3 separate regions of the Homo sapiens genome follow, and regions 1 and 2 are each linked to region 3. The links are contacts of gene promoters, found by promoter capture Hi-C in blood cells and fetal thymus (Javierre and others, 2016). All regions are on one chromosome and are shown on one strand. The core of a region is centred on a gene start or on the middle of the fragment in contact, and the rest is flanking DNA. Distances in the headings are between cores, read along the strand shown. Region 1 overlaps CEP250 (centrosomal protein 250). Region 2 overlaps CEP250 (centrosomal protein 250). Region 3 holds the start of PHF20 (PHD finger protein 20).

Region 1 (2,700 bases), core at 116-2,615, 300 kb after region 3:
AAATTTGAATCAACATTTATAAATGGAAAGATTTTACATAAAAATATAAATTTCTGGCTTCTCCCAAAAAGTTAACAAATGGGCCACACCCAGCCCCCATTCCTACATGGAAACGATTTACTGAAGTTGAATGGTAGATGCCTCATCTAGATGAGACATTTATTATTGAGGGTCCCACAATCCCTATTGCTCCTCATGGCTTCCTTAATACTGAGCTCAAGTGTCCCCTGCAGTACTGAAAACTAAATACAACAAACAGCACTGGAAAACCAGAATTCTTACAACTGAACCCATTTCATTTATTTACATTATCTGAGCCCCATGGATATTCTGAATTGGCAAGTTCCTGAAAAAAAAAGAGGGAATCAGAAAGCTACAATTCCTGTTGATCTCAGCTTGGATGAGAAGACTAGGGGTGTACATATGAATAGGGGTTCAGGAGCTACCTAAAATCAGAGATCTGAAAACTTATAGAGATGAAACATGGTATTAAGCCAGAGGGTTCTAACATCCAACCTTAGAGAAGCCCTCTGATAACATCCCTGGCAGATGTTAAGCCAATGACCAAAACCTTACTCCTTCACAAGACAGGCTGTTCAACTACTTAACAGCTCTAGCTGTGAGCCAGAATCTATTCCCCTATTAACTTCTAGCTATTGACATTGGTTTTGCCCTGGAAAACATTAAATATGTAAACTCTCTTTTCTCTTTTTTGAGACGGAGTTTCACTCTTGTTGCCCAGGCTGTAGTGCAATGGCATAACCTCGGCTCACCACAACCTCCACCTCCCAGGTTCAAGTGATTCTCCTGCCTCAGCCTCCCGAGCAGCTGGGTTTATAGGCATGTGCCACCACGACCGGCTAATTTTTTTTATTTTTTTAGTAGAGACGGGGTTTCTGCATGTTGGTCAGGCCGGTCTCAAACTCCCGACCTCAGGTGATCTGCCTGCCTCAGCTTCCCATAGTGCTGGGATTACAGGCGTGAGCCACCGCGCCCGGCCCTTCATAAACTCTCTTTTCCCAGCGTCAGTCCTTCAGATATGTGAAGGCAGCTATCATGTCTTCAAGGGCCTTCACAGGGCCTCAAGCTCTTTCTTCTCCCGGCTAAACATTGCCATACTCCTCAGTTGTTTCCCATGTGACTAGATTTTAAATCTCTCCACATATCCGCTTCCTGGTAACTCACTAATTTGCCAATGTGTCTCTGAATGTATGTGCCAATTCTCTGGTAAGGACACACTGCATACATATGCCATTGCAATTTCCCCAGGAATACAGTAGGGATAGTAGACAGTCAATAGTATTTATTCAATGAATAAATGAATGAGTTAATTAATTTTCAGATTCAGCCAAAATTTATTTTTTAGCTTTAGAGGATTTCATCATGGAATATGTAACTGGTATCCTGCACTATCTGTCCATAAAGCACAAGGAACCTACAAGCCCACGCCCAACTCCTTTCCAGAGCAAAGGATCATGTACCAGGATCTCCACTGTCTCTCTCAGAGCCTTTATCATCTTTTCATAATCTTCATTTTGCTTCTGAGACTGGGTCAACAGAGCAGAGAGCTCGGTCACCCTAAAGAGAAGAGCATAGCACTGTCACCAGAACAGCCCATGGATGTGGACAGAGCTACGATGCAGCACACCCCAGCCCCAGCCCCAACCCCAACCACTCCCAACTGCAGCCTCCCCCAAATCCCTTAGGCACCCCCAGCCCGTCTGCACTCCCTGAATACCACATGATGCTATAGCCTTGAAGTGGGGAAGCAAAAAACCACTCAGACACATGCAGGGATTTACCACATCTCAAGGCTGGAACACGTGTTTGGGGGCCCAAGAGCTGAAGGAAAGCCCTGGCCCAGGCCCTTCCAGGCCTCGCTTGATCTTGAAGTCAAGCACCCTGAAGCCAATAAGAACATCAGAATTGCACTTGGGATAGTCCCAAGGTCCCTCCAGCCCGAGGTTCTGACTCTGATAGGGAAAAAGGAAGGGCAATTTGGGGAAGATTATGTTCAACCTTCTTGATATTAATCTCAAAGTCCAGCAAAATCACCAAACACTTAACACTATATCTTAGAGCTTACTGCTTGCTATTATGTGAGTGGCTAAATAAATATTTCTTGAATGAATGCTATCTAAAAGTTTAAATTTTTTTCCAATTTTTTTTTTGAGACAGGGTCTTGCTCTGTTGCCCAGGCTGGAATACAGTGGTGCAATCATAGCTCACTCTCAAGCAATCCTCCTGCCTCAGCTTCCCAAGTAGCTAGAATTATAGGTGCATGCCACCACATGGCTATTCTTTTTTTATTTTTACTTTTAGTAGAGACAAGGTCTCACTATGTTGTCCAGGCTGGTCTCAAACTCCTGGGCTCAAGTGATCCTCCTCACTCAGCAAAAGTCTTAATAATTTTATTCTATACCATCTCTAAGAACCTTAACACACTGTATGGTCATTTGTTTAAGTATTGCATCACTCAACAAACATTCACTGGCCAGCCACGGTGGCTCAACCGGTAATCCTAGAACTTTGGGAGGCCAAGGTGGAAAGACTGCTTGAGCTCAGGAGTTCCAGACCGGCCTGGGAAACATAGTGAGACCCCGTCTCTACAAAAAAATTAAAAAGTTAGCCAGGCATAGTGGTGCGTGCCTGTAATCCCAGCTACTTTGGAGGCTGAGGCAAGAGAATTGCTTCAGCCCA
Region 2 (2,700 bases), core at 94-2,593, 280 kb after region 3:
TATTGAATGCTTATTGTGTTCCTGACACTTTATATATTCCTATAATGGTTATAGGAATTAGGAACAAGAATTGTTCACCCTTGTTTTATGGATGAAGAAGCTGACGTTCACACAATTAGAAAGCTTACATTCAAACTCAAGACCATTGAACAGCCAAACCTGTGTGCCCTTAACCCCTGCAAGCCACCATCTGGCTCTTACACCCCATTCCTTCCCTCCTAGTTCCATCTTTTCTCTGTATACAATATCTGGGGTTCTGATGGGGGCAGACTGAGTCCCTGGAAGTCTTGCTGCTGCCTGCCTGATCTGGAGTATTTCTGGTTGCTCATTCTCCCTGCTACATCTTGCCAACCAGACCCAGCATACTTTGAAGCCGGTGTGCTGGAACCAGGCCTGCATGGGCTACACCCGTGTGCACTTTGCTGTGGGCTGTCAGGTTTCCCACAGGAGCCATGTCCATCTCTGGGTCAGATTCCCAAGCCCCCGCCTTGTCTAGTCCTGGCTTCCCCCTCCTGTAGGGGTGTTGAGGCACCAGCCTATCCTGTAATCAGGAAAAATAGATGGGTCCTCTCCATGAGAGGACTCAGAGCAATCAATCCACCGCTTCAGAATCAGGCTTCTGCCAGGGATGCAGAGCTCATAACCAGAGTGGGAAGTACCTGAGCACTGAGCTCTTTCTGTTCTCCCTGGGCCTCCTGCATGTCCTGGCGCAGGGCACTCAGCTCTTGTTGTCGAATAGAGTCAGCTTCTTGTAAAACAAGGAGTCTCTGTTCCTTTTCCATCAGTGAGAGAGTCAGGCTAAAAAGAGAGGGGTCAGAGTGCTGGGCCATTCTCTTAGGGAATGAAAAATTACCTTCTCATCTGAGTATTCTAAACATAGCATTAATAATCAAAATAGAAATAGTAATGATAATGATTATGATGTAACAATAAAAGCTATCATTTATTGAGCACTTACTATAATAAGTGCTCCTAGGTACTTCCTGCAGATGATGCCCCATTTCAACCTCACAGGTTTTTTTGTGTTTTTTTTTTATTGAGACAGAGTCTTGCTCTGTTACCCAGGCTGGGGTACAGTGGCACGATCTCGGCTCACTGCAGCCTCTGCCTCCCGGGTTCAAATGATTCTCGTGCCTCAGCCTCCAGAGTAGCTGGGATTGCAGGCATGCGCCACCATGCCTAGCTATCAACCTTATTCTTCTCTGGCAAATTTCACACATACCTTATATTAGTACCTCACGTTCAACATGTCCAAATCTTCCCCATCCCTTTCCTCTCCTCCCCTGTCCACCCAATCATCTCCTACTATGTTCCCTAGCTCAGTGAATGGCACTTCCATCCACACAGTGTCCTAACGTAGAACCTTGACTACTCCAGAGTTCTCCCTTCAACCTACCTACATCCAATCTATAATTATATACAATTGATTCTAACTCCCTTAACATCCTTTAAACCTCTTCTCTTCTCTCCTCCTCTTCCCCACTACCCTACCTTGGTTTAGCTTTAGGATCTCTCATCAGGACAACTGTACCAGCCTAACTTGTCTTCCTGCCTCTAGATTCACCACCAAAATAATGTGTCCCTTCTCAAACTGTGTCTTTTTTTTGTTGTTTTTTGCTTTTTTTGAGATGGAGTCTCGTTCTGTCACCGAGGCTGGAGTGCAGTGGTGTGATCTCAGCTCACTGCAACCTCCACCTCCTGGTTCAAGCAATTCTCCTGCCTCAGCCTTCCAAGTAGCTGGCATTACAGGCACCCACCACCATGCCCAGCTAATTTTTTTTTGTATTTTTAGTAGACATGTTGGCCAGGCTGGTCTTGAATTCCTGACCTCAAGTGATCTGCCCACCTCAGCCTCCCAAAGTGCTGGGATTACAGTCGTGGGACACAGCACCCAGCCCATCCCCTTCTCAAATTCCCACAGCACTAAGAATACAAGCTGCTCTTCACTCTGAATGGTCTTCTTTCACTCCTGATGTCTCATGGCATTACAATCCCTTCAAATACATCATAAGTTGGATTGTATCAATTTCCCTGCTTAAAATTCTCCAGAGGTTTCCTATGAAACTCAAACTACGAACTCCTTGCTGTGGCCTACCAAATCTTGAATGCTGTGGACCTGCCCAGCTCATGCCACTCTCCTCATTCACCAGGCTCCAATTACAATCCAATCAGGCTCCAACCACTCTTTCAGTTAACACTGTAAACTTTTATCTGCCTCACGGCCTTTGCATATTATTTCTCCTCTTACGGAATAGAACTCCCCCTCACCCTTTTACATGGGTAGCTCCACTTCATGCTGAGTGCTCAGTTTAAATGCAACTTCCTGAGAAAGGCCTTCCCTAACAATGGTTCTAAAGTCTCTTCTCTCTCTCACCCTGTTTCCTCCATGTGTCATAACGTAATAATTTGAGTTATTATTTGATTAATGTCTTCCCCACAAAACTATAAATTCTACTGGGGCAGGGACCATACAGTCTTGTTTATCACTGTATCCCCAAGCATGGTGCCTGGTGCATAACAGGCGTTCACGAAATATTTACTAAATAAATGAAGTTCAAGCTTTGAAGACAGGAACCATGTCCTCTCCACATGGCTACATGTACATCCCAGAGTTGCAGACATGAAAGGCAAGGTGGCCTGAGCAAACAACTGTCAATATCACAGTGACCATGGCAGCCAGATAGACAAAAGCCACCTCCA
Region 3 (2,700 bases), core at 74-2,573:
TGAGGAATGAAAATGTCTTGGATGACAGAAAAGCTAAACAGGGTAGGAAGGCATGCTCAAAACCACAGACCACTCGCCACCTGGAAATGAGAGGACTCACAAAAAGGTGTGCCCCCCAAATTTAAGAAGCATCTGGAAAGTGGCTGCACTCTGAGAGTTGTATAACTAAAAGGGGTTCACCTCGTACATTTGGGGGGCACAAGAAACAAATATACTCCCAGATATGAAAATGAGTCTCCTTCAGGAAATAAGGTAGTTTGATTTGGGGAACACGTGAAAAGTGTGTAACCCCAATAATACAGTCTCGGGAGAAGGCAGTGAATTCCCTTATTTGTGAAACTGGAAATAAGTACCCATAAACTTCAAAATTTGGACATTGTTTTCGGCCCAACCTCAGGTTTGAAGGGCTGAGGAAAGGAAGTGGCCCCTAAATGTAAGAAATTCCAGAAGGCATGCTGTCAGATTTGGGACCTGGAAAAGGGGAATTCTTCCTTGGAGTAGAGGGGATACAAGAAAGTATCCCAAAACTTTAGCTAATGGACCCCAGATCTGAGGACCCGATAACAGGGTGAACCTCTAAATTGGAACGGAAATGCAGAATCAAATTGGAGGCCCGAAAAAAGGAATGTGCTCCCACTTTGGGGGCTGACGGAAGAGGGTACGCCCTAAATTTGGGGGGGGGAGGGCTTTTAGAAATTTAGATAAAATTCCAGAGCTAGAGCTTAAGAAAGGGGGTGTGCCGCCCAGTTTTCAAAACTATAGAGAAAAGGGACACTCCCATATTTGGGGTCTTGAGAAAGGAATGTGCTCCCCAGAATAGGATAAAAAAAGCCAATTTTAAAAAACATATTCCCAAAGCGCAAGGCAATAGCAGAGGCTGCTGATGAGGCTCTAGGTGCCCACACAGCTCAGGCTCGGGCCCTAGGGCTTACCCGCACCCCCAACACGGCCCGCTCCGCGCCCCGGGCCCGCACCCCACGGCCCAGCCCCCTCGGGCGGCGCTGATTGGCGGCAGCCGCCGCCACTCTTGCGGGTAGCCCCGGGGATTGGGCACCGCTCGCACGCCCGCCACGCTCTCAGCAGCAGTCCCAGGGCCTCCCTCCAGGCTGGGCGAGCGGGGCCAGGCGGGGAGCGGGGCCGGGCAGGGGACCGAAGCAGCGGTGGCGTCCGTCGCCGTCCCCGCCCGCACGGCGCGCGCGCAGCGCGGGCCCGGCCCAACCCGGCCCGGCCGGCCGGCTTCGCCTGGCCGCGAGCTCACCTCACGGCCCCACTCCGGCTGCGCCGCTCCAGGACCAACCGACAGAAGGACTCTGCGTGCTCTGCACCACGTGACCCCCGGGACGCGCCCAGCGTATGCCCCGCCCCCCACACACACGCATCATCGCCACCACCGAGTGACGTAAGGTCCCAGCTGCCCCGCCCCCTGCCCCGTCTGCCCGATCACTGTGGCAACGGCCTGCGCAGGCCACGCCCACTACCCTGACGCGCGGGAAACAGGCCCGCGCCCTAGCAGGAACACGAAGTCCCCACTCACTCGTAATCACTGAGATCACCGAAGCCGGGGAATGGACGCTATCCATCACCCGTTAATTTTGCCACCTAAATGCGTCTCAAAGCTTCCCATTTCTCCATCGAAGCGACCACCATCTCTCTCCAAGATGAAGATGGTTTCCACCCTATTACTCTTCGCCGTTCTAATCCATTCTTCGTACACCGGCAGAGAGGTCTTTTCAAAACGCCATCCCCTGCTCAAAGCTCGTTTCCCTCCCTACTCCGGATTAAGATCTAACTCTTCACCTAGACTATCTACCAGGCTCTTCAAAGTCTGGACCTGACCTGCTGCTTTCTTATCCTCACGAATCCAGCTCCCCCACATTCTCAGTGTCCTTCAACTCCGCTAACAATCCAGGTTCTTCTCATCTCAGAGCCTTTGCACTCATTTCTCCCCCACTTTATCATTAACTCCTAGAAAGGTTTCCAATTGCTGCTAAGGATAAGGAGCTGTATTTTCTCTGGGGACGAAGGTCGGAGTTGAAGCCACCCCAAAAGAATATGAGACCAGGAGCAGTGGCTCACGCCTGTAATCCCAACACTATGAGAGGCTGAGGTGGGTAGATCACTTGAGCTCAGGAGTTCGAGACCAGCCTGGGCAACATAGCTAGACCCCCGTCTCTCCAAGAAATACAACAATTAGCCAGGCGTGAACGTGCGCACCTGTGGTCCCAGCTCAACCTTCTGAGTAGCTGGGACTGCAGGCCCATGCCACCATGCCTAGCTAATTTTTTTTTTTTTTTGAGACACGGTCTCACTGTGTCACCCAGGCTGGAGTGCAGTGGCGCAGTCTCGGCTCCTCATAACCTCCACCTCCTAGGCCCAAGCAATTCTCCCACCTCAGTCTCCCAGATAGCTGGAACCACAGGTGTGCACCTGGCTAATTTTTGCATTTTTTTGTAGAGACGCAGTTTCACGATGTTGCCCAGGCTGGTCTTGAATTCCTGGGCTCAAGCAGTCCACCCACCTCAGCCTCCCAGAGTGCTGGAATTAACACCGTACTTGGCCACTTTTTTTTTTTTTTTTTGAGATAGAGTCTCGCTCTGTAGCCCAGACGGGAGTGCAGTGGTGCGATCTTGGCTCACTGCAACCTCTGCCTCCCGGGTTCAAGCAATTCTTTGCCTCAGCCTCCCAAGTAGCTGGGATTAC

Evidence for each region. The method cuts DNA at HindIII sites, captures the fragments that hold promoters and counts their contacts. A CHiCAGO score of 5 or more calls a contact.
Region 1: a contact is called between a fragment that was not itself captured here and the fragment with the promoter of PHF20 in region 3, in 1 of 17 cell types (total B cells). The highest score is 5.7, in total B cells.
Region 2: a fragment that was not itself captured here is called in contact with the fragment with the promoter of PHF20 in region 3 in 3 of 17 cell types (naive B cells, naive CD4 T cells and naive CD8 T cells); the score reaches 7.2 in naive B cells.

Annotation. Positions count from the first base shown.
Region 1 is chr20:35,468,768-35,471,467 of GRCh38, reverse strand. It overlaps CEP250 (centrosomal protein 250), which reads right to left. Exons shown (of 35, transcript NM_007186.6): 10 at 1,482-1,578. Among named protein-coding and RNA genes, the nearest start is that of CEP250, 15 kb to the right of the region's middle. The HindIII fragment of the contact is 7,220 bases long and covers 1-2,700 here.
Region 2 is chr20:35,494,675-35,497,374 of GRCh38, reverse strand. It overlaps CEP250 (centrosomal protein 250), which reads right to left. Exons shown (of 35, transcript NM_007186.6): 25 at 660-798. Among named protein-coding and RNA genes, the nearest start is that of CEP250-AS1, 5.0 kb to the right of the region's middle. The HindIII fragment of the contact is 2,436 bases long and covers 126-2,561 here.
Region 3 is chr20:35,770,638-35,773,337 of GRCh38, reverse strand. PHF20 (PHD finger protein 20) reads right to left here and starts at 1,323. Exons shown (of 18, transcript NM_016436.5): 1 at 1,259-1,323. RefSeq lists a silencer at 876-1,255. The HindIII fragment of the contact is 4,645 bases long and covers 1-1,618 here.